3 separate regions of the Homo sapiens genome follow, and regions 1 and 3 are each linked to region 2. The links are contacts of gene promoters, found by promoter capture Hi-C in human tissues and cell types (Jung and others, 2019). All regions are on one chromosome and are shown on one strand. Each heading gives the region's core, a stretch centred on a gene start or on the middle of the fragment in contact. The rest is flanking DNA. Distances are from core to core; before and after follow the strand shown. Region 1 has its middle 8.8 kb from the start of ZNF430. Region 2 holds the start of ZNF626 (zinc finger protein 626). Region 3 has its middle 29 kb from the start of ZNF430.

Region 1 (3,161 bases), core at 137-2,636, 350 kb after region 2:
TGTATGGAAAAGCATCATGAAAATCCCTATCCTGTTCTGTTCTGTTCTGACTAGTGGTACATGCAGCCCCCAGTCACATACCCTCTGCTTGCTCAATCAATCATGACCTTTTCAGGCGGACCCCGTTATAGTTGTAAGCCCTTGAAAGGGACAGGAATTGCTCACTCAGGGAGCTCAGTTTTTGGAGATGTGAGTCTTCCAATGCTGCCAGCTGAATAAAGCCCTTTCCTTCTGCAACTCGGTGTCTGAGGGGTTCTTGTCTGTGTCTCATCCTGCTACAACAGAGGTGGGCAGATCACGAGGTCAGGAGTTCCAGACCAGCCTGACCAACATGGTGAAACCCCGTCTCTAGTAAAAATACAAAAATTAGCCAGGCGTGGTGGTGCAAGCCTTTAATCCCAGCTACTCAGGGGGCTGAGGCAGGAGAATCACTTGAACCCGGGAGGCAGAGGTTGTAGTGAGCCAAGATTGCGCCATTGCACTCTAGCCTGGTCGACAGAGCAAGACTCCATCTCAAAAAAATTAAAAATAGGCTGGGTTGGTGGCTCATGCCTGTAATCCCAGCACTCTGGGAGGCTGAGGTGGATGGATCACCTGAGGTCGGGAGTTCGAGACTAGCCTGACCAACGTGAAGAAACCCTATCTCTACTAAAAATACAAAATTAGCCAGGTGTGGTGGAGCATGCCTGTAATCCCAGCTACTCAGGAGGCTGAGGCAGGAGAATCGCTTGAACCCGGGAGGCAGAGGTTGTGGTGAGCCAAGATTGTGCCATTGCACTCCAGCCTGGGCAACAAGAGTGAAACTCTATCTCAAAAAATAATAATAAATAAAAATAATAAAAAATAATAATGAATAAGTAAATAAAATAAAAATAAGGGATAAATATGCAAGGAAATAGCATAAAGAAAAAACAATCAGAACCTCAGGAAATATTGGACACACTTATAAAAATGCAAAATGCTCTGGAAAGTCTCAGCAATAGAATTGAACAAGTAGAAGAAAGAAATTCAGAGATCAAAGACAAGATCTTCAAATTAACACAATCCAGCAAAGACAAAAAAAAATGAACAAAACCTTAAAGAAGCCTGAATAATTGGTTTTTCTGAAAAAGAAGAAAAATCTAAAAGTTTGGAAAACATATTTGGGGAAATAATTGAAGAAAACTTACCTGGTTTTGCCAGAGGCCTAGACATTCAAATACAAAAAGCACAAAGAATACCTGAGAAATTCATCACAAAAAGATCATCACCTAATCACATTGTCATCAGGTTATCTAACGTTAAGATGAAGGAAAGAATCATATCATATATACATATATATATATACACATCATATATATATATCATCATATACACACACACACACACACACACACACACACACAATGGAATACTACTCAGCCATAAAAAGGAATGAATTAACATTTGCAGTGACCTGGATAACATTGGAGACTATTATTCTAAGTGAAGTCACTCAGGAATGGAAAATCAAACATTGAATGTCCTCACTGAGATGTGGGAGCTAAGCTATGAGGACACAAAGGCATAAGAATGATGCAATGGACTTTGGGGATGTTGGGGAAAGAGTAGGAGGGGGATGAGGGATAGAGACTACCAATATGGTGCAGTGTATACTGCTCTACTGCTCAGGTGATGGGTGCAACAAAATCTCACAAATCACCACTAAAGAACATACTAATGTAACCAAATACCACCTGTAGCCCAGTAACTTATGGGGAAAAAAAAGAGACTTAAAAAAATATATATATATACAAAAATTAGCCAGGCATAGTGGTGCATGCCTGTAGTCCCAGCTACTTGGGAGGCTGAGGGGAGAATCACTTTAACCTGGGAGGCGGAGGTTGCATTGAGCCAAAATTGTGCCATTGCACTCCAGCCTGAGCCACAGAGTGAGACTCTGTCTCAAAAAATATATATAAAAAATAAAACTAGTAATCCAGGCAAAACAAAAATGAATTATACATTATGAAAATACTCTGCCACATTTTTATACTAAATCAGCCAGTACTGAAATTTTTTAGATGTGCCATTTGAGTAAACTGTGTGTTCCAAGTCAGATTACCTATGATAACCTCTCAGTTATCAGTGCTATGAACCTAAATTGAAGAAACAAACTTGATATTTAAGAGGACATAAATTTAATGTTAAGTGTGAACTCATAGAGAACCTAGACAGCAGTGACTTTTTTCATTCCTGAGTTCTTAAAGCTTCCTTTATCAAAAGCACTGCATTTTATCACTCGCCACAGAAGAGATAAAAAATAGTCTAAGTTGGCGGGGCACAGTGGCTCATGCCTGTAATCCCAGCACTTTCAGAGGCCGAGGTGGGCAGATCACCTGAGGTCAGGAGTTCAAGACCAGCCTGACCAACACGGAGAAACTCTGTCTCTACTAAAAATACAAAATTAGCTGGGTGTGGTGGTGCACTCCTGTAATCCCAGCTACTTGGGCGGCTGAGGCAGGAGAATCACTTGAACCTGGGAGGCAGAGGTTGCAGCGAGCTGAGATGGTGCCATTGCAGTCCAGCCTGGGCAATAAGAGTGAAACTCCATCTCAAAAAAATACATAATAATAATCTAAGTTAAATATAAATTAAATGTGTGTGTGTGTGTGTGTGTGTGTGTGTGTGTGTGTGTGTGGTGACTGTCCTAACTACCAAAATAGGTTAGGACCGTTTTTTTCCTCTCAAACATATAATCCTGAGAAGACAATCCAAACTTCATGTACACTTTGGGAGACCAAGGCGGGTGGATCACAAGGTCAGGAGATTGAGACCATCCTGGCGAACACGGTGAAACCCCGTCTCTTCTAAAAATACAAAAAAAAAAAAAAAAAATTAGCCGGGCATGGTGGCAGGCACCTGTAGTCCCAGTTACTCGGGAGGCTGAGGCAGGAGAATGGCATGAACTCGGGGGATGGAGCTTGCAGTGAGCCGAGATCGCGCCACTGCACTCCAGCCTGGGTGACAGAGCGAGACTCCATCTCAAAAAAAAAAAAAAAAAAAGCTTCATGTACATTTCTGCTACCTGAGGATCTATTTAAACATTTGTAAAGAAATCTTATTCAATTGTCATGTTTAATGCATATTTTCTTGTAGAATAAAAATTTTCTCATGGGAAAAGTCTGATGTTATAACAGTAG
Region 2 (2,986 bases), core at 173-2,672:
ACTGGTGGGGCTGAGGTAGGAGAATCGCTTGAACCCAGTAAGCCGAGATCACGCCATTACATTCCAGCCTGGGCACCACAAGCGACACTGTGTCTAAAAAAAAAAAAAAAAAAAAAAAAATACCCTGTTGCAGGCTTAATATTAGCCTTAGCTTGGAGTCACTAGGTTCAAGCTTTAATGTCCACATCAGTTATTCACTTGGTTTTTGAAACTAAGTGTTAGAAACTCCAGTGAAATTACTCACAATGTTTACATAAAGGAATTTTTAAGATGCTTACTTTTTTTTTCTTTTTTTTGAGCCGGAGTCTCGCTTTGTCACGCAGGCTGGAGCGCGATGATTGGATCTCAGCTCACTGCAACTTCCGCCTCCCGGGTTCAAGCAATTCTCGTGCCTCAGCCTCCCAAGTGGCTGGTACTACAGGCACGTGCCAACACGCCGATAGTTTTCGTATTTTTAGTAGAGACGGGTTTCACCACGTTGGCCAGGCTGGTCTAGAACTCCTGACCACGTGATCCACCTGCCTCGGCCTCCGAAGTGCTGGGATTACAGGCTTGAGCCACCGCGCCCAGCAAGAAAGGGGTTTTGAACCCTAATGCAGTTCCTGTTTTTGTTTCCATCCCCTATTGGCTGGGATCAGACCGCACAATCTAAGCTGATCCTGGTAAGCTTAGACCCAAACTTTTTCCAAATAAAGTAAATGCGCGATTTGCGAGAAAAGGAAAAGGGGGTAGAAGAAGAGGTAGGGTTGATTTACAACTTTTACAACTTATGACCAGAAAGTTGAGTCATTTAAAAGGAACTTAGTTGTCCTAACACCTCTTTACCTCAAGTGATCCGCCCGCCTCGGCCTCCCAAAACGTTGGGATTACAGGCGTGAGCCACAGCGTCCGGCCCCATACATTTTTAATAGGAGAAAAGAGAAACTGTAAACCCAAAGGAACAAAGCTCTTCCCATTCATGAACCCGCACCCCGAGTCAGGATTCTCCCCTGCCCACCCTCCCCTGGTCCCTGCACAATCTGGGAGAGACGCCACGCTGCGGGTGCAGAGCTGCCCAGAGAGGGCTCCAGGCCAGGGTAGTCACCGCGCAGTGAAGAGACAAGACGCCCGGGTGCCGGCTGTCAGCGCAGCTGCCATTTTATGGCTGAACAGGACTGAGGCCGAGCTGAGCAAGGAGAACTGGGGGAGCAGACTGTGGAGCTGACTGCGGGGAGGCCTGAGTCCCGCCACAGCCACTTTTCACCGGTTCCAACCAGTCCCTCTCCTCTCTCGGGATGTCGGACCCTCACTCTCACCATTTTTGGCTTCCAGGAGGTCCCGGTGTCTTAGCTGTGGATCTCCCAATACCTGCAGGACACGGGGCCACACAGCCTGGGCCTTTAGGAGAAGAACCAGACCTGGAGCTCTGACTGCAGCGAGAGACAAAGGCCGCACCAAACCCGGAAACCGTCCTCTTCGCTCCAGCTGCGTTCCTGATTGGATGGTTTCCAGCCCACCATCCCTGATTGGATAATGCTTAAGGCCCCGCCCCCTGAGGCCCTGAGTGACAGTAGATGTGATCAGACGCTGAGCTGAGTGAAGAAAGAGTGACAGCCTAAGCTGCAGCCTTTTCAGGCAGGGCTTCCTTCCTGAGCTGAGCCAGGCCCACCCCAGAGCATGGGAGAATTCTATCTTTTCTTTACTCTCTCTCTTTTTGAATGTATTCAAAAGGTGAACAGAAGTATTTTGCTCTCATATTAATAATACATAAAATTTTTGTTCAAGAGAAAATCAACTTTTACTTTGGCAATAATGTATTATCAATACTAAAGGTAATTTTGATAAAACCTTATAAAAAATCAAATTTGTCATTTTTGACCTCTCGAGATTTACATACATATTTTGTAATCTAATGTAATTTTTTAACTTTTTATATTTTATTTTTATCTACATTCTTTTTATTTTTTCAATTTGAAACAACCTTTAAGTAATTTCAAACTGTTACAAGAGACAAAGAAATCATTTAGGGCCAGTCCGCTGGTGCACGCTTGTAATCCAAGCACTTTGGGAGGCCAAAGTGGGTGGATCACTTCAGGTCAGGAGTTCAAGACCAGCCTGGCCAACATGTTGAATCTCATCTCTAGTAAAAACACAAAAAATTAGCCAGGTGTGGTGGTACACACCTGTAGTCCCAGGTGCTACGGCGGCTGAAGCAGGGGAATCGCTTGAACCCAGGAGGCGGAGGTTGTGTAACGGCCTAAGGGCTTCATCTTGCCTAGACAGAGATGATTCATCAAGACAGGGGAATTTGTGGAGGAAAAGTTAAATATTAAATTTGAACTCAGTTGAACATGGACACAAACAATGGTCACCAAGTCCTGGAACAGGTTATGTGAGCCCCTTGAGGCATTCACCTGCCGACCTTCCCCTGGTCCCTGCACAATCTGGGAGAGACGCCATGCTGCAGGTGCAGAGCTGCCCAAAGTGGGCTCCAGGCCAGGGCACAGTCACAGCGCAGTGAAGAGGCAGGACTTCTGGGGGCCTGGCTGTCAGCGCAGCTGCCATCTTCTGGCTGAATGGGACTGAGGCCAAGCTGGGCAAAGAGAACTGGGCACAGATTGTTTTGGAGAAATCTCTATTTTAATCTATTCCTATACGTTAGTTATTGAAAAACAATAGCCAATCGCAAAAAAAACAAGTTGACTTTTTTGTGTTCCTTGAGCCCAGTTGCAAAGAGCCCAGTTGCAACTGGGCCTCATGCCAAACAACTTGTTACAAAAAGAGCTAGGATCCCAGACTGCACCAAAGCTCCAAAGACCTCTCCTTGTCTGTACAGGGATGGGTGGCCGACTCTGGAGCCCAGGCTGTTGCTTCCTGGTCTGCTGATGAATCCTCCATAGTCTGGTGAGTGTAAAGATATATATTTTTTCTCTTCTCCCCTTCCCATTGCAATGCTCTTATTATATCAATTTGCTTATTATATATGCATTGCCATTTACCTGGGATA
Region 3 (3,100 bases), core at 146-2,645, 330 kb after region 2:
AGTACGGGCCAATATTCAACATTCTTGAAGAAAAGAATTTTCAACCCAGAATTTCATATCCAGCCAAAGTAAGCTTCATAAGCGAATGAGAAAGAAAATCCTTTACAGACAAGCAAATGCTGAGGGATTTCATCACCACCATGCCTGCCTTACAAGAGCTCCTGAAGGAAGCACTAAATATGGAAAGGAAAAACTGGTACCAGCCACTGTAAAAACACACCAAAATATAAAGACCAATGACACTATGAAGAAACTGCATCAACTAACATGAAAAATAACCAGCTAGCATCATGATGACAGGATCAAATTCACACATAACAATATTAACCTTAAATTTAAATGGGCTAAATGCCCCAATTTAAAGACATAGACTGGCTAACTGGATAAAGAGTCAAGACCTATCAGTGTGCTGTATTCAGGAGACCTATCTCACATGCAAAGACACATATAGGCTCAAAATAAAGGTATGCAGGAATATTTACCAAACAAATGAAAAGAAAAAAAAAAGCTGGGGTTGCAATCCTAGTCTCTGATAAAATAGACTTTAAACCAAAAAAGATCAAAAAATAAAAAGAAGGGCATTACATAATGGTAAAGGGATCAATGCAACAAGAAGAATTAACTATCCTAAACATATAAGCACCCAATACACGAGTGCCCAGATTCATAAAACAAGTTCTTAGAGATCTACAAAGAGACTTAGACTCCCACACAATAATAGTGGGAGACTTTAACACCCCTCTGTTAATATTAGACAGATCAAGGAGACAGAAAATTAATAAGGATATTCAGGACTTGAACTCAGCTCTGGACCAAGCAGACCTAATGGACATCTACAGTACTCTCCACACCAAATCAACAGAATATAAATTCTTCTCAGTGCCACACAGCACGTATTCTAAAATTGACCACATAATTGGAAGTAAAACGTTCCTCAGCAAATGCAAAAGAATGAAAATCATACCAAACAGTCTCTCAGACCACAGGACAATCAAATTAGAACTCAGGATTAAGAAACGCATTCAAAACCTCACAACTACATGGAAATTGAACAACCTGCTCCTGAATGACTACTGGGTAAATAACGAAATGAAGGCAGAAGTAAATAAGTTCTTTGAAACCAATGAGAACAAAGACACAGTGTATCAGAATCTCTGGGACCAGAATCTAACACAGCTAAAGCAGTGTTAAGAGGTAAATTTATAGCACTAAATACCCACAACAGAAAGCTGGAAAGATCTAAAATCAACACCCTAAAATCACAATTAAAAGAACTAGAGAAGCAAGAGCAAACAAATTCAAAAGCGAACAGAATACAAGAAATAACTAATACCAGAGCAGAACTGAAGGAGATAGAGACACAAAAAACCTTCAAATAATCAATTAATCTAGGAACTGGTTTTTTGAAAAGATTAACAAAATAGATAGACTACTAGCTAGACTAGTATAGAAGAAAAGAGACAAGAATCAAATAGGCACAATAAAAAATGATAAAGGGGCTATTACCACTGATCCCACAGAAATACAAACTACTATAAGAGAATACTATAAACATCTCTATGCAAATAAACTTGAAAATTTAGAAGAAATGAATAAATTCCTGGACACATACACCCTCCCAAGACTAAACCAGGAAGAAGATGAATCCCTGAATAAACCAATAGCAAGTTCTGAAACTGAGGCAGTAATTAACAGGCTACCAACCAAAAAATGCCCAGGCCCAGATGGATTCACAGCTGAATTCTACCAGAGGTACAAAGAGGAGCTAGTACCATTCCTTCTGAAATGATTTCAAACAATAGCAAAAGAGGGACTCCTCCCTAACTCATTTTATGAGGCTAGCATCATCCTGATACCAAAACCTGGCAGAGACACAATAAAAAAAAAAATTTCAGGCCAATATCCCTGATGAACATCAATGCGAAAATCCTCAATAAAATACTGGCAAACCAAATCCAGCAGCACATCAAAAAGCTTATCCACCATGATCAGGTGGGCTTCATCCCTGAGATGCAAGGCTGGTTCAACATACACAAATCAACCAACATAATCCATCACATAAACAGAACCAATGACAAAAACCACATGATTATCTCAATAGATGGAGAAAGGGCCTTTGATAAACTTCAACATCCCTTCATGCTAAAAACTCTTAAAAAACTAGGTATGGATGGAACACACCTCAAAATAATAAGAGCTATTGATGACAAACCCATAGCCAATATCATACTGAATGAACAATAGCTGGAAGCTTTCCCTTTGAAAACCGGCACAAGACAAGGATGCCCTCTCTCACCACTCCTACTCAACATCATATTGTAAGTTCTGGCCAGGGCAATCAGGCAAGAGAAAGGAATAATGTGTATTCAAATAGGAAGACAGGAAGTCAAATTGTCTCTGTTTGCAAATGACATGATTGTATATTTAGAAAACCCCATCATCTCAGCCCAAAAACTCCTTAAGCTGATAAGCAACTTTAGTAAAGTCTCAGGATACAAAATCAATGTGCAAAAATCACAAGCATAGGCCTGGCATGGTGGCTCGTGCCTGTAATCCCAGCACTTTGGGAGGCTGAGGTGGGCAGATCATGGGGTCAAGAGATCGAGACCATCCTGGCCAACATGGTGAAATGCCGTCTCTACTAAAAATACAAAAATTAGCCAGGCATGATGGTGTGTGCCTGTAATCCCAGCTACTCATGAGGCTGAGGCAGGAGAATCGCTTGAACCCAGGAGGCGGAGGTTGCAGTGAGCCAAGGTTGCACCGCTGGACTCCAGCCTGGGTGACAGAGCAAGACTCCGTCTCAAAAACAAAAAGAAACAAAAAAAACACACAAGCATTCCTAAACAACAACAATAGACAAGCGGAGAGCCAAATCATGACTGAAATCTCATTCACAATTGCTACAAAGAGAATAAAATATCTAGGAAAACAACTTACAAGGCATTTGAAGGACCTCTTCAAGGAGAACTACAGACCACTGCTCAAGGAAATGAGAGGACACAAACAAATGGAAAAACATTACATACTCATGGATAGGAAGAATCAATATCATGAAAATGGCCATATTGACCAAAGTAATTTACAGATTCAATGCTAT

Evidence for each region. Contacts are between HindIII fragments. The study calls those that stand out against the background at their distance.
Region 1: a contact is called between a fragment that was not itself captured here and the fragment with the promoter of ZNF626 in region 2, in 1 of the 25 tissues and cell types used here (hippocampus).
Region 3: a fragment that was not itself captured here is called in contact with the fragment with the promoter of ZNF626 in region 2 in 1 of the 25 tissues and cell types used here (dorsolateral prefrontal cortex).

What each region holds. Positions count from the first base shown.
Region 1 is chr19:21,010,310-21,013,470 of GRCh38, forward strand. No RefSeq gene overlaps it. Among named protein-coding and RNA genes, the nearest start is that of ZNF430, 8.8 kb to the right of the region's middle. The HindIII fragment of the contact is 6,310 bases long and covers 1-3,161 here.
Region 2 is chr19:20,660,149-20,663,134 of GRCh38, forward strand. It overlaps ZNF626 (zinc finger protein 626), which reads right to left and starts at 1,423. Exons shown (of 4, transcript NM_001076675.3): 1 at 1,296-1,423. The coding sequence starts at 1,298. RefSeq lists a silencer at 1,548-1,617. The HindIII fragment of the contact is 1,409 bases long and covers 420-1,828 here.
Region 3 is chr19:20,990,015-20,993,114 of GRCh38, forward strand. No RefSeq gene overlaps it. Among named protein-coding and RNA genes, the nearest start is that of ZNF430, 29 kb to the right of the region's middle. The HindIII fragment of the contact is 4,218 bases long and covers 1-3,100 here.